Regions from separate parts of the Homo sapiens genome. Here all the other regions are linked to region 6. The links are contacts of gene promoters, found by promoter capture Hi-C in blood cells and fetal thymus (Javierre and others, 2016). All regions are on one chromosome and are shown on one strand. Each heading gives the region's core, a stretch centred on a gene start or on the middle of the fragment in contact. The rest is flanking DNA. Distances are from core to core; before and after follow the strand shown.

Region 1 (2,700 bases), core at 141-2,640, 400 kb before region 6:
TCAGTGAATTTCTAGAACACCATTCCAAAGCTTTCAGGAAGGGTGAAGAAATATATCCTGATGGTTGTGCCAATGAGGCAATGAAGTAATTATTGAGAAGAAATGGTTAAATCCCCATCTGTTAGGTTAGTTCTGAAGGCTGGAAAGAATGAAGCTCTTAGGGAACACAGTTCTGCAAAGGACAAGTGAACCATTACACTCTCTTTTGCCTTCAACTGCAACAGGACATCACTATAAACTGAGAGGTGGGACAGAGATCATTATTCGATACATGGTGCCCAGGGAAGGGAAGGTGGAAATTACTGCCTAATGAGACACTTACTCCTCTGACAAGTGGTGCCTCGGAAGCCTGGTGCACACTCGCAGATGCCATCATCAGGGGAGCATGAAGCCCCATTTTTACAGTAGCAGGGCAGGGAGCAGTTGGGGCCCCAGCGTCCCTCAGCACACACGCTGTCACAGTGGACACCTGAAATAATGCACATGGGGCAAGGCTGAGTGAGAGGCAGTGCGGAGTTTCCGCAGATGCTAATTCATAGATGAGGACTAAGCTCACAGTGTTAAACCTGAGGATCACCAGCAGCAATGAATGGAGAGTTACCATCTTATAAACATCAATACACAGTATCATAACATTAAAATAATACCCAGACCGATTTTCTATGGAGTCATGAAGAACGAATAACAAACTTTTGTTATATTGATTTTTCTTCTTCAGGAGGAGGCAATAAAGTGGAAGCCCAAGGGCTCTGTCTATTGCAAGTAAAATTTATCAACAATACGATATCTTTTAGCCCTTGGTGACTTCCTCCTCCTCCTCCCATTCTTTGTTTTCACAGAGAAATAAAGTGTAAAAGGATAAGGCAATGAACAGTTCCATAAAATGTTTTACATAAAGAAAACCCTCCCCTGGATGAAACAAATAAACATAATCTTAAAATAACTTGATGGTGCATTGTGCAGAACAGAAAGATGCACTGACACGTGCCACCAAATTCCTCCTTAAAAATCTTACCTGACATTGGAGAGATATTGGCAGAATATCACAACTGACATTATTTGTAGCTGTTGTCTATGCTATCGATTATTATGAAACTGTATGCAGTTGTTTAACTCTAATTTTAAATACTGAGAAACTTTAGAATTAAAAAAAATGACAAAAGGAAACAGAAAGGAAAGCTAAGTTTGCAAAAATAAAACTAAAACCAGGTTTTATTTGAGATAAATAAAAGTCTCTTCTGTACATTCGTATTGGAAATACAACAGGGGCCTCTTTCTTGCCAGAATTCCTCACAACTCAAAGAAATGTTCTTCACATTGAAAGGCAATAAGTTATAATTAGTAGTGAACTGGCAGTTGCTGGCCTCAGACCAAATGAAAACACATTAAGAGCAAGCACGCAGACCCTCCAGGATTCCAGAATACTAACAACCACCCAGTACCACGATGCTGAGACGGTCATGTCTTGTGTTACAGTTTTGGCTTCTAAAGTAATCAGGCAAAAAGTCACCACAGTCTGAACCTTAACATGGAAGCAGTCCCAAACTATAATGTGAATGTTGTTAATTGGTACACCATTTCCGGTGAACACTGGAATAGCAAGAAGATCCACTTTTTACTGTTCCTGTTTTTTTCCTTCTGAAAGTCTCCCACGTGGTAAAGGCCATTAAATAGGCAAGAAAGCATGCAGACCTCATTGTGTCTAGCTTGACCCAACAATAGACTTTTATTTCATTCGGACCATGGGCTGAAGAAAGGAGACCAGGTCTGTTCATAAACCAATTGGGGTTTAAATGTTTCCCATAGAATAAAGTATGAAATCTGGGCCTACTATGTTGATTTTTTTCTTGCAATCATAAATATATTATTTTTTTTTCAAATCTCTTTTGAAAATCTGAGATGAAATTGCAAACTCTACCCTCACCAGATGTGATACATCAGCCACAGAATCTTACCTGGAATTTATATCCACACCTATACTGGGCAGAAGCATCAAACATATTAAGCAGTAAACCACTTCAAAATGAGGCTGCAAACCTAAACTTTGTTTTGAGAATTTAAAGAAAGTACCAACAAGGGTAACCTGCTAAACACTTCGCTCTCAGTTCAAATTCAGGTCCTAGACTCTGACCGTGAGCCAAGACTCCTGCTTAACAACAGCTAAGATGGGGACACCTGCTTATCACAGAGACTTAGACAATCAACCCAGGGCATTTTGGTCTGATGCCATCAAGACAAATCCCAACGAAGATTTTGAAGAAGTGGAAACTGAGTAATTATCCTGTTAATCTGACTGATCATCATCCTGAAAAAGCAGTCCCGATTTTTTATGCTTTTTTGTTAGGGTGGGGACTTGGGGGACAGGTAAGATTTAGCCATTTATGATGACTTAGTTTATCAACTACTTGCCAAATCACTACTTCAAATTGCACTTAATAAATTCAGTTAAGATGGAATGGAGTACACTTTAGGTCAAAAGTATTTGCTGCTTTTTTATATCATAGGTTATCATGATTTATGTATAGCTTAGCCTATTCTCAATCAGAGCATGGTAAGAAAAATGACTACAGGCCAGATAGGCAAATCTGAATAAAGAGATCCTCTCTTTCATAACTTATTCTTCTTCCCTTAAGAGGTTTGTTCAGCTGATTAGCCTAGCCATCAGTCATAATCAACTATATCCTGGTAATGTTTGTATAA
Region 2 (3,007 bases), core at 418-2,917, 420 kb before region 6:
AAAAAAAATTTAATTGTGCTTCTGATTTCTTCTTCAAATTTACATGATACCTTTTAAGGATTTTCCCATATAGCTTCTGTCAAGTCCAAAAGCACCTGTAATAAAGGAAGAAAAAAAACACCCAGTGAGAACTGAAAGGAAGAAAAACCCCATCCAATATCCCAAGGTCCTGGAAGAGGATCTCCCACTGCAGCAAACAACCAGGCTGCTGCTCTTCAAGCCTTTACACCAGATCAGTTGTCCCAGATGTCCCCAGTGCCTAGAATTAAACACACACACATTTGGTCATTCACCTAGTCATTTACAGTGACTCAGGAAAAGCTAGTCAAAACAGGATAGAAACTGAGGCCCAGAGATAAATCAGTATACTTGATTCAAGGTTGCACAGTGAAAAGAAAGGATACAGCCAAGACCAGAGTTGACATTTCATACCTACGTGCAGCTCTTTCAAGGCTCTGATGGTTTTCAAATAGTTTTCCCAATAATCATTATTCGGTTATATTATTGTCTTCACTATAAGCATGTTTTCTGGAGACTGGAAGCTTCGAACACTGTTGACTAATACTTTACAGGTGATACTAGCTCTTGCCCTTCTTTATTCAGCTTTTCATAATTTGACTTTTCCAGGTATGGGGACATAATTGTGTATGAGCCTAGATACACACAAAAAAACCTGCTTTCTCATTGGAAAATGGCCAGCCTTTATTTCGTGGGTGTGGGGAGGGAAATAGGAGTGTTCCGGCTCATGCTGGAAAAATTGAGCATGTAGGCAAGAGAACGTGCAACCACTTACAGAAATCAATCAGGTCACAAGCATGTTGTATAAAATATAAGCATTTAATCACAAATTCGCACTACTAAAAACAAAATAAGACGACATTACCTAGCCCATTTTATACTATCTGGTGTATACGTGCAAAATTGCATTGTTAATACTGCATGGGAGTCAATTATTCTATTGGAGCTGTGTTGTGACAAAAAAGGAGAAAACTATAGATTAGGAGACAAAGGAATTACATGTTATAACTTATTGGCCATAGGACTTTGGGCAAGATGTTCCACCCTCTGAGTGTCAATTTTCTCATCTCTAAAATGGGGAAAACAAAATTTGCCTTCCAGCCTTCCAGGGTTTTTGTCATCATTAAGTGAAACAGAGCATATGAAAAGGCTTTGTAAACTCTGAAGCACCATACAAATGAAGTGTGTCAATTACTCTAACGCTCAGTGCATTATACTACCCTCTGCTTCAGTCTTTCCTTAAGCACTCCAAGGCATTTTCAATTGCCTTTCAAAAGAATATTACAGGCCGGGTGCGGTGGCTCATGCCTGTAATCCCAGGACTTTGGGAGGCCAAGGTGGGTGGATTGCTTGAGCCCAGGAGTTCAAGACCAGCCTGGGCAATATGGCAAAACTTCATCACTAATCTTTTGAAATACAATACAATAAGAATGTTACAGACTTAGGTTAAAAGCAGAGAGTAAAGTAACAACTAGCAATGAACATTCCAGGTAAGTATTTGAGAATGTTAAGGAAACGATATCCTTGCCACTGTGCATGCATCTCTTAGAGAGATGTTAAGCTCAAGTTCTGATGTTGGTGTCCCATGGGGATCACTGAGTAAGCACACACTGTTGTGGAGAAGGAAGCAGCCTCTCCTAAAGGGAGAGGGTCTGTCAGATATCAATCATCGTGGGACAGGAAATGGGAATATTTTCCTCTCTCAGGCACACTCTCTTGCATCTGGGTTGTGAAGAGTCTAACCAAGCCCATAGCTGGGGGGAAGGGCACACGGTTATGCAGGGAGGCAGCATAAATGGGTGTGTAGTGAAGAATTAACCTTATCAAAGAAAGGGGTGGCCTTTGCCCTCAGCTCCTGGGAGGTGATCTTGAAGTCCTTGGACTGTCCTGCCCAATAGGAGTGCTTTTGTTCACCCGGAGGCCCAGGGATACACCGGATAGTGTAACCAAGTGATTTATGGTGGGGGGTTTGGGCCATATGGTATCATCTCCACCTCTGGAAGGGGAAAGACTAAAGGTCAATCATGTCTACATGATGGGAGTCAATCATGTCTATATGACTGAGCCCCCCATAAACTGTAACCATGAGAATGCCCATTCAGTGAGTTCAGTGACTCCTTGTAGCAAAATGTTGATCCTGAGGGTCGTCTTGGTGATCTTTCAACTTGTAGCTGATGTCAGAAGTCAGGGTGGTCTTGGGAATTCCCAGACTTTATAAAGAGGACCCATGAAGATGGGGCACAGTCTGTGGCCTCTGAGAACAGCTTTATCAAGGAGCTCTGTCTATGCTCCTCTTTGCCAAATACTCTTGGCCATCTCCAGACTGTAGCAAAGTCTTATTAAATGCCCATTTTAATCTTAGCTGTGCAGTGGCTAGCCTTCCACCAAGGTGTGAAAGAGAGAACCAGCATGGAGCAGATAGTAAGTTAGGGAATAAGAGCTGGGGCTATGAGGCCAGACACCCCTGCCAGATTCTGTCTTCATTGCCTTGGAGGATCAGGGAGCTGTTTTAATGAGGGAGCAGTCAGGATTCCCTATAAACTCCTATATACACCCATCCCTGGAGCAGGGCTTTCAAATGCTTGGTTTAATTTAATTCACAAAACGAGCCAGTACATGCTTATTACTCCCATTTCACAAATGAACGAATCAAGGGTAAGTGAGGGTAAGTGACTGGCCCAGTGCTATATCTCAGGGTCTTTTGTGTCTAGTTCAAGGCTCTTTCAGATACCATGACGACAACTATTCCATCATTTAAAGCACCTGTAAGCTTTATCATCCATAACATGCCTGACTCTGTCCTTTGTGAAGAACTTTTTCTGTGCAACAACTTTAAAGGGATGTTAAATGCAGAATTATTCCTGAGTGAGAACAAACCAAGAAGATCCAGAATTTCCAATGAAGATCCTAGGTTCCTAACACTCAGTCCCTTGGGTCTCATTGAGCCAGAAAGCAGAGACATTTACATGTGACCAGTACAGTGATGCCG
Region 3 (2,805 bases), core at 292-2,791, 370 kb before region 6:
AGAAGCAAGTTCTCTCTTTACTTCCCTTCTCTTTCTCTGGCCCCTGGCCTTCCTTGGCTCAAATGTAAAATTCATCTGAAAATTAACTGTTATTCCCTTTCCCTGTACTCCAGATGAAATAGGTATAAGCTCATTTGCCTTGTATGTTTATTGTTCTTGTGCTACCTCTAATTTGAAATTTAAATCCCTAGAGGGCAAAAAAAAATTATATTGCCATTTTAGTGGCCTAAAATATGACAAGAAACTATTATTAAGATAGTGCTTGGTCTTGTGTCTCCCTTACCCCAACTCATTTTTCTATAATAAGATGTTAAATGGATCCAGAAATTATCTAACAGCCTAATCTATCCAAAATACAACCTAAAACCAGGATGTCAGTTACAAAATCTGAGTAGTCCAATTACATGTTATAAAAACTGTGTACTAAGGATGTCAATAATTCATTGCATGAAAAATTAAAGGAAAAATATGTAATTATATTAGCAAAAGAAAAAAAGGCATTTAATGAAATTAAGCAGCTACTATTAACAAAATTTTTAATTAAAAAAAGGGATTTAAAAAACTACTTAAGAATGAAGAAAATAATTTACTAAATACCAATAGCAAACATGAGACTATACTGAAGCCATTCCAATAAATTTGGAAACAAGACAGGGATTTTTACTTTTACTGCTGTTTGTCAACATTAATTTGGAGGCTCAAATTTATGCAATAATTCAAGGAAATGAAATAATCATTATACATATTGAAAAGAAAAGACTAACTTATGTTTATTTGTAGATGATATGATAGTATAACTAAATAACTCCAGAGTTTGCTAAAAACAACATTAAAATTACCTTGAAAGTTTGGTAGTATGAATAAATTAAAAAGTAAATAGTCAAAAGCAAGTTTTTCTTCAACCAGAAATATCCAATTACAGGCAGAAATGAAATTTTAAAAAATTACAAAATACTCAGAAATAAATTTAATAAGAAAGTACAGGGTCTAAGTTGGAGGCAGGAGGCAACAAACATGACAGTATCTTATTAAAAGTCATAAAATTAGACCAAGATTTAGAAAGAGAAAAAATAAGGGGAAAAAAGTTGAGGGAATTCTTAATTCAAAGACATCATAAAAAATAATGATAGCTAATATTTATGCAGCTTGTAAACAGCACTCAAACTGATAATCACTAGTATTTACATAGTTCATAGAAATTGCTCTAGAATAATAAAATCTGATAAGTTCCAGGGCTGTTTTAAATGTTTTAACACACTAACTTATTTAATCCTTACAACCCTAGAGAGAAGCACAATTATTATTAGGATGTTACAGACAAAGGTGTTTCCAACGCCTGTAATCTTAGCACTTTGGGAGGCTGAGGCAGGCAGATTGCCTGAGCTCAGGAGTTCGATACCAACCTGGGCAACACAGTGAAACCCCATCTCTACTAAAATACAAAAAATTAGCCTGATATGGCAGCATGCGCCTGTAATCCCAACTACTAGGGAGGCTGAGGCAGAAGAATTGCTTGAACCTGGGAGATGGAAGTTGTGGTGAGCCGAGATCATGCCACTGCACTCCAGCCTGGGGGACAAAACAAGACTCCATCTCAAAAAAAAAAAAGTGTTTCCAGGGACACATTTACCTAAACCTAGATTCCAAATAATTGTTTTCAATCACTATGACCTTCTGCCTCTCAAGTCTCTTCTCAAATCCTACACACACATCCAGTGAGCCTGGCTACCTAGTCTTCCAGGACATGACAGATTCAAGAGCATTAAAAGAAGGATGCACACATCATGTTAAAAATTTTCTGTAGAGCAAAGAATACAATCAACAAAGTGAAGAGCCAGCCCACAGAATGAGATAAAGTATTTCCAAACTATCCATCTGACAAGGGGTTATAGGTTGGTGTAAAAGTAATTGCGGTCTTCACCGTTACTTTCAATGGTAAAAACCGCAATTACTTTTGCACCAACCTAATGACCAGCATATATAAGGAGCTCAAACAATTCTATAGGAAAAAGTCTAATATTCCAATCAAAAATAGGCAAAAGATTTGAATAGACATTTCTTGAAAGAAGACATACAAATGGCAAACAGGCATATGAAAAGGTGCTCAACACAATTGATCATCAGAGAAATGCAAATCAAAACTACAATGATTTGCATTTATATATGCAATGAGATATAATCTCAAGCCAGTTAAAAATGGCTTATATCCAAAAGACAGGCAACAGCAAATGCTGGTGAGGATGCAGAGAAAACGGAACCCTTGTACACTGTGAGTGGGAATGTAAATTAGTACAACCACTATGGAGAACAGTTTGGAGGTTCCTCAAAAAACTAAAAATTGAGCTACCTTATGATCCAGCAATCCCACTGCTGGGTATATACCCAAAGAAAGTAAATCAGTATATGGAAGTGATATCTGCACTCCTATGTTTGTTGCAGCACTGTTTACAATAGCTAAGATTTGGAAGCAACCTACGTGTCTATCAACAGACGAAAGGATAAAGAAAATGTGGTACATATACACAATGGAGTACTATTCAGCCATAAAAAGAATGAGATCCAGTAATTTGCAACAACATGGATAGAACTGGAGATCATTATGTTAAATGAAATAAGCTAGGCACAGAAAGACAAACATCACATGTTCTCACTTATTTGTGGGATCTAAAAATCAAAACAATTGAACTCATGGACACAGAGAGTAGAAGAATGGTTACCAGAGGCTGGGAAGGATAGTGGGAGGGTGTGGAGGAAATGGGGATGGTTAATGGGTACAAAAAAAATTAGAAAGAATGACTAAGACCT
Region 4 (2,970 bases), core at 56-2,555, 500 kb before region 6:
GGAATTCCTGGAACTTACATATTTTTAAGCATTATCAATAGGGATAATAAAAGCTTATGGGATTCAAGGGATATTATCATCTCAGTAATTGATTTGAATGTTAATGCTGGATTAAGAAGATCTCTTTTAGGACTAACTATTCCTTTTGTGCTCTCTCAATGTTTCTTTCCCTCCCACAATAATCAAAACCTATCTTAAATTTCTTTAAATTAAAACTCCACTATATCTTCATAATACGATAGGGCTGTCTACTAAAAGCAAAGTTCATTGTTATTTCAGTATGTAAAAGTCTATTAGCTCCATAGAGACAACAGATTATCAGAATTGTGAAAAAATTAAATGCCAGTTTCCATGTCCTGAAAATGGTGTTCTGTTACTCACTTTTAATCCAGCTGCATAGCCCACTGGTTGTGGGGCAATATTGGACTGTCCAGCTTCCCCTACAACCACAGCTAAGCCAAAGACCTCCTGGAAGGCATCTCGGACAGCAGCAACTTTTACTTCTTTATTTGAGGTCACTACAATATCCAGTTCACCTCCAGATTCTAAAAAGACCAGAGGAAAATTTAACTTTCAAATTAAAATAATGAAATTCTCATAATTACTACCATACCAGGTGCTAACATCTAATATACATAATTATTACCAGTTTCATAAAACCATGCAAGATATAGATCATTATCTTTTTTATATGCTTGAGAAAACTGAGGCCAACAAAGTTTTGCCCAAGGTAACGTATCTACTTAGCACTAATGTCAGGACTCAAAACTGACATTACATATCACAAGCCAGAAATCACATATCTGGCTTGTGAAGTGTAAGTTACATATTTAGTATACTCCACGGAAAATTAAAATAAAGACTTACTGATAGTAAGTGATTTGTCAATGAGTTGCAGAGAAGTTATGTACTAAACAAGCACTACCATGAAATATACTTTTTAACCTAGAAAATAGTTTAAATATGGGGTCATCAAGCTTTTTATTAAATATCCCCACAATGTTCTGAGCATACACCACAAATAGATATTTATCAATTATACATGTACTACTGCCCTAATATAAATATGCAAGCATATATGAAATTGAAATAACACATAAAACTTAAAATTTAAAATATTAAGAGTAATACGAAATAAAAATATTTTCAAATATTTTTAATTTTTCAATTACTTAAACAACCTAAGTACTACTATTTCTAGACAGATCAATTTGACCAAATGTTTCATTATTTTTAAAAATCTTAACCAAACATTTCTGTGATATAATGAATTCAAAGCCCTTGTTCTAAACACAGCACATTTTGATATTTGGCATTAATAGTTATCACCGGCAAAAGAGATTTTTCATGAAAATTGTTTATAATGTAAAACATTTTGCCCTAGAAACAAGGTTGTTTTTCCCTAATAAATATCATGTGGAACAGGGAAAGATATTTTCAAATATTTGGGTTTTAAAAATAATGGATCCCTTTTTCCTGACTGACATAATGTCTCACAGATCACATCTGTACTGGATACTTCAGAAGTTACTAGGACATAAAAGAGAAGAAGAATATACTTTTTTTTTCACTTTTTTCCTCCACATGGGACACATCTCTCGACCTTAGCTAAGTACTGCTCCATTAAGCTTCAGCTCAAAATGGCTTTTCAGCTTGTGATGAGTAGTCCTGCCATTTCTAATACTTTTTGAGTTTCTTGACACATACGAAATTGTTACATCAAATGATTTCTAGAATATTTGTGTAAAAATACCTTAAGATGGCCGGGCGCGGTGGTTCACGCCTGTAATCCCAGCACTTTGGGAGGCCTAGGCGGGAGGATCAAAAAGTCAAGAGATCGAGATCATCCTGGCCAACATGGTGAAACCCCATCTCTACTAAAAATACAAAAATTAGCTGGGCATGGTGGCGTGCACCTGTAGGTCCAGCTACTCAGGAGGCTGAGGTAGGAGAATCGCTTGAACTCAGGAGGCAGAGGTTGCAGTGAGCTGAGATTGCACCACTGCACTCCAGCCTGGCGGTAGAGTGAGACTCCACCTCAAAAAAAAAACAACAAAAAAAAAAACCTTAAGATTTACTTTGAGTTGTTTTGTTAGATCAGAATGGTGATGCTTTGCTGTCAGTAAAGATGTCAGCTTTCTTAAATTCGATTTTATTACTTTTTAAAGCTGATAAAGTTATGACATTTGCTAATAATAGAAATTTCATTTCTGTACCTTTCTTTTTTCCCCTTCGGTGTTACACATTTTTCTTGATGGCTCTACCTTTATCATTTACTAGCTTCTTTACCTTGTGGAAGTCACTGAGCTTGTTTCTTTGTAGAAAAATGCCTGCTATCCAGCCTGGCCAACATGGAGAAACCCCGTCTCTACCAAAAATTAGCTGGGCGTGGTGGCACACGGCTGTAGTCCCAGCTACTCAGAAGACTGAGACATAAGAATAACTTGAACCCAGGAGGCAGAGGTTGTAGTGAGCTGAGATCACGCCACTGCACTCCAGTCTGAGTGACAGAGTGAGACTCTGTCTCAAAAAAAAAAAAAAAAAAAAAAAGAAGAAGAAGAATAAAAACACCTGGCACCTCATAGGGTTTGCTCTAAGGATTAAATAAGGTAATTGCTTTCATAGTCTAACATAGTACAGCCATTAAAACAGCAAAAGCTCCAAAAATATTAATTCCTTTTTTTCCTTCATTCAAAATATGTACTTGCAAAGAAAAGAACATATATGGTGGACTCCAATTTTGAATTCTTTGGACAGTTACAAACACAAAGAACAACTCAGTTGATTTAATGCTTGATTCAATTTTCTACTACAAGGGAAGCAAAGTGGCTAAGTGTAAAAAAATTGAGCATGAGTTCAATACAGCTCCACCAAGTTGTGTGATCTAGGGTGATAACTTACATCCCTCCAAACCTAGATTCCTCGTCCAAAACTTGAGGAAAATACCTACCTTGCAGAGCTCTTATGAGA
Region 5 (2,793 bases), core at 12-2,511, 440 kb before region 6:
ATTTCAAATTTTTTATTATAATTATATCTGTTATGGTGATCCGTGATCAGTGACCTTTGATATTACTATTGTAATTGTTTTGGGGCACCACAAACTATGTGGATAGATGATGAACTTAATCAATGAATGTTGTATGTGTTCGAACTGCTACAACTGGCAGTTCCCTTGATTTTCTCCCTCTCCCTGAGCCTCCCTATTCCCTGAGACACAACAATATTTAATTAGGCCAATTAATAATCCCACAACGCTTGTAAGTGTTCAAGTGAAAGGAGGAGTTGCATGTCTCTTGCTTTAAATTAAAAGCTAGAAATGATTAAGCTTAGTGAGGAAGGTGTGTTGAAAGCCAAAATAGGCTGAAAGCTAGGCCTCTTGTGCCAAACAGTTAGCCAAGTTGGGAATGCAAAGGAAAGTCCTTGAAAGAAATTAAACGTGCTACTCCAGTGAACACATGAGTGATTTAAAAAGTGAAAGAGTCTTATTGCTAGGAGAGAGAAAGTTTGAGTGGTCTGGGTAGAAGATCAAACCAGCTACAACATTCCTTTAAGCCAAAGCCTAATCCAGAGCAAGTCCCTAACTCTCTTTAGTTCTGTGAAGGCTGAGAGAGGTGAGAAAGCTGCAGACCAAAAGTTGAAGCTAACAGAGGTCCGTTCATGAGGCTTAGGGGAAAGAAACCATCTCCATAACACATAAGGGCAGGGTGAAGCAAGAAGTGCTGACGTAGAAGCTGCAGCAAGTTATCCAGAAGGTCTAGCTAAGATCACTGATAAAGATAAATACACTAAACAACAGATTTTCAGTGTCAGTGAAACAGACTTGTATTGAAAGAAGATGCATCTAGGACTTTTATAGCTAGAAAGGGAACATCAGTGTCTGGCTTCAAGTTTTCAAAGGACAGGCTGACTCTGGTTAGGGGCTAATGCAGCTGGTGACTTTAAGTTAAAGCCAATGCTCATCTACTATTCTGCAAATCCTAGTACCTTTAAGAATTATGCTAAATCTAGTCCTCCTGTGCTCTATAAATGTAACAGCAAAACCTGGATGATGGCGTATCTGTTTACAGTATGGTTTACTGAATATTTTAATTCCACCACTAAGACCTACTGCTCATAAAATAATATTCCTTTCAAAATATTACTGCTCACTGACAATGTACCTAGTCACCCAAGAGTTCTGACAGAGATGTACAAGGATATTAATGTTGTTTTCATGGCTGCTGGTACAATATCCATTCTGTAGTCTATGGGTCAATGATCAAGTCCAACTTCAAGTCTTTTTATTTAAAAAAATGTATTATAGAGTTATAGCTGCCTGGAAAAGATTCGTCATTCTAGATGCCATGAAGAACAATTGTGATTCATGGGAGGAGGTGAAAATACTAACATTAATAGTAGTTTGGAGGAAGTTGATTTCAGTCCTCATGGATGACTTTGAGAGGTTTAAGACTTCAGGGAAGGAAGTAGCTACAGATGTCATAGATATAGCAAGAGAACTAGAATTAGAACTGAAGACGTCACTGAATTGCTGCAATCTAATGTTATAGCATGTAAGGAGTTACTTTTTATGGATGAGCAAAGAAAGTGATTTCTTGAGAAGAAATCTACTCATAAAGATGCTGTGACCATTGTTGAAATGACAATAAAGGATTTAGAATATTATATAAATTTATTCTTAAAGAAGTGGCAGAGTTTGAGAAGATTGACCCCAATTTTTGAAAGAAGTTCTACTATGGGTAAAATGCTATCAAGCAGCATCACATGCTACAGAGAAATCTTGCATGAAAGGAAGAGTCAATCAATGCAACAGATTTCATTGTTGTCTTATATTTAGAAAACATCTCAGCCACTTCAACCTTCAGCAACAACCACCCTGATAAGTCAGCTACCATCCACATTAAGGTAAGATCGTAAACTACCGAAAAGATGATTTGTCGAAGGCTCAGCAGTTTTTAGCAATAAAGTATTTTTAATTATGTTCATTTTTAGATATAATGCTATAATGCACATAATGCACACTTAATAGGCTATAGTATTGTGTAAACATAACTTTAATATACACTGGAAAACCAAAACATTTGTGTGACTCACTTTATTATGATAGTATCTTTATTGCAGTGATCTGGGACCTGCAATATATCTGAGGTATATGCCTGTATGTAAAGTTGCATGACAGTGTTTTAATAGATTGTGCTTAGTCTTTAAGCTTTCACTTAATGGCAATGTGGCTTCTTAATATTTATGATATTTAATACTGATTTTTGTCTTAAAAGTGTCTAAAACATTTAGTGAGTTACATAATGTTTTTATATTGGCTCACGCCATCAAAAACTTTCAGTGGGAACCTATCTTACATGTACCATGTGCTGATGTCAAAGAGAAGTGAGTTTTCTCACCAAAGGAAAAATGCTCTTTTAACAACAAAAAGGCATTTTTCTATTAATTAATATACATGGTTCCTCACTCTGGGTTTAAGGGTATTCATTGGCAATCATCTTATACTTTTCTCTAAGAGGGAAAAGAGCAATATTGTAAGCCTCTGTATCTTTTTTCTTGCACTGTTTTCTCCCTTTCTCCACTTTATAAATAATGCATCGTTCCTGAAGTCCAACATTTCAGAGCCTGTCAAGGGTCTCTCTCAATATCGCAGGCAAGTAAGAAAAATCTAGCCTTTCATTCTGGTGTTTTAAGATTACCTTTTTTGAATGGCTTAACTCTAGTTTGTTTTCTGCCAGAAGTAAGATCTACCTGCAGTAAAAATAAAATATTCAGTACACTTTATTTTTACTTAATTTGCAGC
Region 6 (2,921 bases), core at 54-2,553:
ATGCATTCCTTCATTCTTACTAATACGGGTTAGGTGCCTACCCATGGCAAGAGCAGTTCTAGGCAGGGAGAGGCCCCTACCCACCCACAGCTGACGGTCTAGGGCTTGTTTACATTCTAGGTTTCAGCGGGAAAGCAAGAACACCCAACTCCCTGCTTTTGATTCTATGTTAGTAGCTCAGCGCGCCTGTGCGAGCACGTGCTGCAGCCAGGGTAGGGGCTCAGAAACTGGTTGACAAGATGAGCAGTGGGGTCCTAGGGGGTTGGGCGGGAAGGGCCCACAAGGCCATATTCCAGGCTGTTCGGCTGCGAGTGACCCCTGAGAGGTCGGGATCTCCGAGCTCGTCCGATGTCTCCATCCCAGCCAGGAGCTTGCGAAGGGGAAGGAGGGCGGAAGCAGAGTGGGACAGATGTGGTTCGTTCTGGGGCTTCCTGTCCACGAAGATGGATAATTCTAGCGACCCGCCTGGGATTTTGGAATCCTGGCGGACCCAAAAGACAGCAGAAGTCACCGCAGAGGATGCCACCCCGCACGGCAGCCCGCCCAGAGCGACGGTCTCACAGGTTCCGGCGCCGTCGAGCGCCCAAGCCTCCTGTTGGCCGCCAGCTGTGTCCGCGACGCGCTGGGTCGGGAGGAGGAGACCCGAGGCGCCGGTAAGTCCCCCGCTGCAGGTGGCCCGGAGGGCAGGGGTGAGGACGGGGACGTGTACTGAACTTTGGGAGGTTTGCGGGGCTGGAGTTTTGTTTCAGAGATAGCCAGATCGAGATCAGAACGTTTTCCAGAGAGCCCAGGTTTCCACTTGTGGCTGGGCGACCCGGTCCGGAATTCATCCTTTCTCGGCCCTCAGCTTCCTCCGGGCGGGGTTCCGATGGGGCAGCTAAGTTCCGCGCCTCCTGCCGGTGCCAGATACTGGCGTGTCGACCCGCGCTGCGGTTGGCTTCTTGCTCCACAGCGCTATGCGCGCGGCGGCTCCGAGGGCTCCTGGTCTCTCTCAGCCAACGGCCTTCTGGGGCCGCCGCCTCCCTCTAGAGCTGCTCGGGTCCCATTGCAGAGAGTCCCGCAGCGCCCGCCGGCAGCCACGGCACTTCGCAATAACCAACTTCCCCGCCGCCGGCGCGTCCCGCCAGCCTGCCCTCGGCCGCAGGCGACTGGACGGCGGTTACGGGGCGGTCCCAGCGCCACCACGACTGGCTGTCGGCTCCGCCAGTCATGGGCTGATGACGCCCCGGGGCTGGCTCCGCCCCTAGCGGCAGCCCCGCCTCCCCTCCAGAGCCTGGTCGGCTTAGCCCTGCTTTCCGCCTCACTCGTTGAGCAGGTCCGTGAATTGTCAGCGCGCTGTGGGCGACTGTGTGGCCGCGGCGGCCGCCAGGCTTGCCGCACTCCCCCTGAGGTGCCCGCCGGAACCAATGTGCCCTGGTCCACTGGGCCGTGAGCAGCCACCGACTGGGGGCAACTTGGCACTTAGAACCGCAGCAGGGACGTCGGTTTGCTATCGGGACTCGGCGAGGACGGTGAGTGGCCGCGCGCCGGGCTAGCGGCTCCTCTCGGCGCGGTTCGGCGGCGGCGAGAGGGGACGGGACGCGTCCTGGCGCTCGGCGGTCCGTTCGTCCGAGCGTGACCGCTGTGGGGAGGTCAGGGCTGGGCGGGATTTACTCCGTGCCAATATCCCCACTCCCGAACTTCTTCTTGTCAAAGCATCCCAACTCCGCCCGGGACGCGGTTCCAGTCCGCACCAACTTGGCGTAATTGACATGGGTAGGTGGGGCCGGGACGCGTCCCCTGCCCCTCTGCGGCAACGACATGGAGCGCTGGGGCGGCCTCCGCGCCCGCGGCGTGCGGACCGCGGTTCCTGAAAAATTACCCGCGCTGTGCGGTACGGTAAGACCCGGCGTCCGCGTCTGGATCTCAAGGCTGAGCGAGCGCTCATCGGGCTCAAGGTGGGTCTCAGCGCCAGAGAACTGGAGTACCAGCCGGGTTCTGTAGCGGGGGCTTCAGTGCTCTGCAGCTACTGAGAGGAATTGAGAGCACTGCTGGGCTTTGAACTTTCTAAAGTAATTGCTTTCTATTAGCACTTGAATCCATGACCCTCCTGAGGTGCTCGGACCTCCACATCCACCCGCAAGGGGTGTCCGAAGGACTTCGTTAGGACCAGGCGGGAGCTGCTGTCGGTTCTGGTGCCCAGTGCCTTGGAGAATCCTAGAGGCTGCGAAAGGGATTGCCAGCCTGGTCGGTTGGTGTTTGTTTGAGCACCTGCGTGTTTAAGTGATGAAGTTGAGTCAGGAATTGACAGCAGAGAACTCAAGGTTAAACCTGACACTCCGTTTGTGACTCGGTCTGGGTTAGATTGTTTTCCCCCCTTAATGGTAAGGGGGTAAAAGCAGCTTGTTTTTCTGAGACCAACTACATGCATGTAGTTTATATTATGTGCGGAATAAACAGAATTCAATACGATATTTTCTTACAATTCTTATTTGACATGAATAAGAGCTTTTGAAAATACTAGACAGAAACAGGTCCAGAATTTGGGGATGTTTAGACCTTTGAAAATACATGAAAATGTTGAGATATATAGTTCTGTATGTGTATATGAAGATGTAGATGCGCATATACACACATACATACGTGTATATGTGTGAGTGTGTGTATATATAAAATTAAAAGGTGAATGAGGTAAATATATGAAGGGGAAATTCAGCCTTGAACTTCCCTTGGGTCACAGAGATGGATCCTCTGAGCTGTGGGGTGTTAGTGAGTGTGTATGCGTAAGCATGTCTGCATCTGCCTGGTCTGTCTGGGTCAGAGTATGTCCATGAACTTTACGAGCGTTCAGTTCAATACCACTCAGTGCAGAATCCGCGTTCCTGTTTTACAGCCCAGCAGCCGCCAGCCGGCCCATCTGTTAAAACATAACATGTACACTT
Region 7 (3,064 bases), core at 307-2,806, 470 kb before region 6:
ACCAACACTGGTTTTGGCTGGAAAAACAAATCAAGCAGCCAAAGATGTAAGAATATAAAACTACAATATTAAGGGTAATTGTTCTGGTTTTCAGACATAAAAATATCTTGGCAACTGTTGTAACTACTGCCAGACACTCCAACAGTCTGATTTTGTCATGAGATTTTATTTCTCCTTAACGAAGCAACTAAAAATCAGTAAAAAATCCTACTTGTACAAAATTCTAACATAAAATCTTAACTGTGTAAGCATTTTTAAAAGTCAAAACAAATTTAAGAAATGAAATTTTGCATCCATGTTATCTTTGGAAGAATAATGATCAAATCAAAACTTCAACTGTAATACCATGTTATTATGGTCATCAAATCCAAATTTGACAAAACATTAAGCAATGTAAATTTAATTTCAGCAATAGAAAATAGAAAATTTTTTCCTCAAAATGAAAAAATTATTGATTGTTTCATGAGACTCCATATGCAGGTTCAATTCCTGTATGCTTGCATTGTTGAGGGTGAGATTAGGTTGAAGGTTAGCAGGAAATTAATAAGGTGGGATTGGGCTGGCCCAAGGAAACCTGGAAACTTTGTTATGAACACATGGTGTTGGGTTTTCTAGGAACCCCGGAAACAAAGAACAACCACTGCTGAAGCTACAATTTTGTAAATTGTTAGTGCCTGAAGTATTGCTCCCTCCACTTTGCTTGTTTTTTTTTAATTACAGCTATAAGAGGTATAGTTGACATACAACTCATCCATTTAAAGTATACAATCCAATGGCTTTAGTATATTCACAGAGCTGTGTATCCATCACCGTAATCAATTTTAGAACATTCTCACCACCCCAAAAGGAATCTCTATTCCCCTTAGTCATGGGCAGGTGATGACCTGCCCATACCCCTAGCAGACCTCACCCCTAGTGCTAGGCAACTATTAATCTGCTTTCCATTGCTACAGATTTGCCTTTCCAATTTACCTATTTGAAATGAATGGAATCAGACAATATGGGGCCCTTTATGACTGGTGTCTTTCACTTAACATATTTTCAAAATTTATTCATGTATCAGTACTTTATTTCTTATTATTGATGAAAAATATCCTACTGTATGAATGACACACATTTTATTCATCCATTCATCAATTGATGGGCATTTGGGTTGTTTCCGCTTTTTGGTTATTATGAATAAGGGTGTTGTGAACATTCATGTACAAGTTTTTATGTGGACATGTGTTTTCATTTCTCTTGTGTATACACTTCAGAGTCTAATTGCTGGATCATAGAGTAACTCAGTGTTAAATCTTTTGAGCAACTGTTGGTCTGTTTTCATAAATGGCTGCAATGTTTTATGTTTCCACCAGCAATATGAGAGTTCCAATTACTCCAAATCCTTGTTAACACTTGTTATTATCTGTTCATAGTATTCCTTCATAATCCTTTTTATTTATGCAAGGTAATGTCCTCTGCTTCATTTCTGATTTTAGTAAGTTAAGTCTCCTCTGTTTTTCTTTGGTCAGTTTAGCTGAGGTTTGTCAATTTTGTCTATTCTTTCAAAAAACAAAGTTCTGGTTTTGTTGATTTTCTTCATGGTTTTTCTAGGCCCTGTTTCATTAATTTCTGCTCGAATCCTAATTTTCTTCCTTGTTTGCATTGCATTTAGTTTTCTTTTCTACTGTCTTAGGTGAAATGTTAAGCTGTTGATTTGAGGTCTTTCTTCTTTCTTAATATAGGTATTTACAGCTATACATTTCCTTTTAAGCACTGCTTTAGCTACATCCTGTGAGTTTCATTATGTTGTGTCTTCATTTTCATTCATGTCAAATTATTTTCTAATTTTCCTTGCTATGTGCTTATCATTTTTTTGAAGATTGTCTAAACTGTCCAATTTGACAGCCACCAGCCCCATATGACTACTTAAATTTAAATTGAAACATAATAAAATAAAATAAATTTGTTCTTCAGTCATACTAGCCACATTTCAAGTGCTAATTAGCTACATTTGGTGAATGCCTACTATATTTGACAGTGGACAAAAACATTTCCATCATTTTACAACATTCTGTTGGGCAGCACTGCATAAGCATTCTCACAGAGTGGAATATTCAAAGATGAAGTGTCAGTTCACAAGACAGCTTACTGCTCATTTTCAAATGCCACATAGTGTATAAATTTCAATCCAGTTCAGTGCCTCATTTGCTTAATATATTCTCTTATTCACAGTAGTCTCTCGACAGGAATGCTTTTTATGTTATGCAGCCTCAAAAGTTGATCTCTTTGTTAGATCATCTCTGGCATCTTCAACTACACTTTTGCTTCTGCTACTGCTCCTGGTGATTTCTTGCCCATCTTCTCCTACATTGTTTAGTAACTATCAAGTAGTAATGTTCATAAAGAAAGGGAAAGCTAGAAGAGTTAATAAATGCTGAATGTCTACTGTGTACCAGGCTCTCTCTGGAGCTTCTCATGTATTAGCTCACTCAAATCCAAAATAATTCTAGGAGGTAAATATTTTTATCTTTATTTTCTGATGAGAAAAAAAAATCAGTTTCTAAAATGTCAGGACAGAAGCCCACACAAATTATAAGTGAGAGAACCAGGATTTGAATCTTTGTTAGGCTCCAAAACCCTCTCTCTCTTGCTTATTTAATTAATCAACTTTATTTTTTAGAGCCATTTTAGGTTTACAGAAAAAATAAGCAGAAGATACAGAGGGTTTCTATTTATCACCCCAATCACAGTTTCTCATTTTATTAACATCGTGCATTAGTGTAGTAAATTTGTTACAATTAATGAACGAATATTGATGCATTATTATTAACTAAAATGCATAGTTTACATTAAGGTTCACTCTGTGTGTTGTACAGTTCTATGGGCTTTTGCAAAGGTATGATTCATATATCCACCATTATAATATGGTACAAAATAGTTTCACTGCCCCAAATTTCCCTATATTCCAACCATTCATTCCTCCTTCCCTCACTTTGAATGCCTGGAAACCACTGCTCTTTTTATTGTCTCCATAGTTTCGCCTTTTCCAGAATGTCATATACTTGGCATTATATGCTGTGTA

Evidence for each region. Contacts are between HindIII fragments. The CHiCAGO score rates a contact against its expected background, and 5 or more counts as called.
Region 1: a contact is called between a fragment that was not itself captured here and the fragment with the promoter of MARCHF3 in region 6, in 3 of 17 cell types (M1 macrophages, M0 macrophages and M2 macrophages). The highest score is 8.2, in M1 macrophages.
Region 2: a fragment that was not itself captured here is called in contact with the fragment with the promoter of MARCHF3 in region 6 in 1 of 17 cell types (megakaryocytes); the score reaches 5.8 in megakaryocytes.
Region 3: a fragment that was not itself captured here is called in contact with the fragment with the promoter of MARCHF3 in region 6 in 1 of 17 cell types (M2 macrophages); the score reaches 6.0 in M2 macrophages.
Region 4: a fragment that was not itself captured here is called in contact with the fragment with the promoter of MARCHF3 in region 6 in 2 of 17 cell types (erythroblasts and total B cells); the score reaches 6.0 in erythroblasts.
Region 5: a contact is called between a fragment that was not itself captured here and the fragment with the promoter of MARCHF3 in region 6, in 1 of 17 cell types (naive B cells). The highest score is 6.0, in naive B cells.
Region 7: a contact is called between a fragment that was not itself captured here and the fragment with the promoter of MARCHF3 in region 6, in 3 of 17 cell types (erythroblasts, M1 macrophages and naive B cells). The highest score is 6.9, in erythroblasts.

What each region holds. Positions count from the first base shown.
Region 1 is chr5:127,431,132-127,433,831 of GRCh38, reverse strand. It overlaps MEGF10 (multiple EGF like domains 10), which reads right to left. Exons shown (of 25, transcript NM_001256545.2): 14 at 323-469. Among named protein-coding and RNA genes, the nearest start is that of PRRC1, 85 kb to the left of the region's middle. The HindIII fragment of the contact is 2,716 bases long and covers 33-2,700 here.
Region 2 is chr5:127,451,654-127,454,660 of GRCh38, reverse strand. MEGF10 (multiple EGF like domains 10) reads right to left here. Exons shown (of 25, transcript NM_001256545.2): 23 at 51-95. Among named protein-coding and RNA genes, the nearest start is that of PRRC1, 64 kb to the left of the region's middle. The HindIII fragment of the contact is 2,246 bases long and covers 545-2,790 here.
Region 3 is chr5:127,403,525-127,406,329 of GRCh38, reverse strand. All of the region lies in intron 8 of MEGF10 (multiple EGF like domains 10), which reads right to left. Among named protein-coding and RNA genes, the nearest start is that of PRRC1, 110 kb to the left of the region's middle. The HindIII fragment of the contact is 7,427 bases long and covers 1-2,805 here.
Region 4 is chr5:127,531,198-127,534,167 of GRCh38, reverse strand. It overlaps PRRC1 (proline rich coiled-coil 1), which reads right to left. Exons shown (of 9, transcript NM_130809.5): 6 at 382-545. Among named protein-coding and RNA genes, the nearest start is that of PRRC1, 15 kb to the right of the region's middle. The HindIII fragment of the contact is 651 bases long and covers 980-1,630 here.
Region 5 is chr5:127,470,022-127,472,814 of GRCh38, reverse strand. No RefSeq gene overlaps it. Among named protein-coding and RNA genes, the nearest start is that of PRRC1, 46 kb to the left of the region's middle. The HindIII fragment of the contact is 1,881 bases long and covers 321-2,201 here.
Region 6 is chr5:127,028,940-127,031,860 of GRCh38, reverse strand. It overlaps MARCHF3 (membrane associated ring-CH-type finger 3), which reads left to right and starts at 1,303. Exons shown (of 5, transcript NM_178450.5): 1 at 1,303-1,511. LOC105379163 (a long non-coding RNA gene) reads right to left here and starts at 518. Exons shown (of 2, transcript XR_007058920.1): 1 at 1-518. RefSeq lists an enhancer at 421-965 and a silencer at 962-1,341. The HindIII fragment of the contact is 7,560 bases long and covers 1-2,921 here.
Region 7 is chr5:127,497,827-127,500,890 of GRCh38, reverse strand. No RefSeq gene overlaps it. Among named protein-coding and RNA genes, the nearest start is that of PRRC1, 18 kb to the left of the region's middle. The HindIII fragment of the contact is 4,735 bases long and covers 1-3,064 here.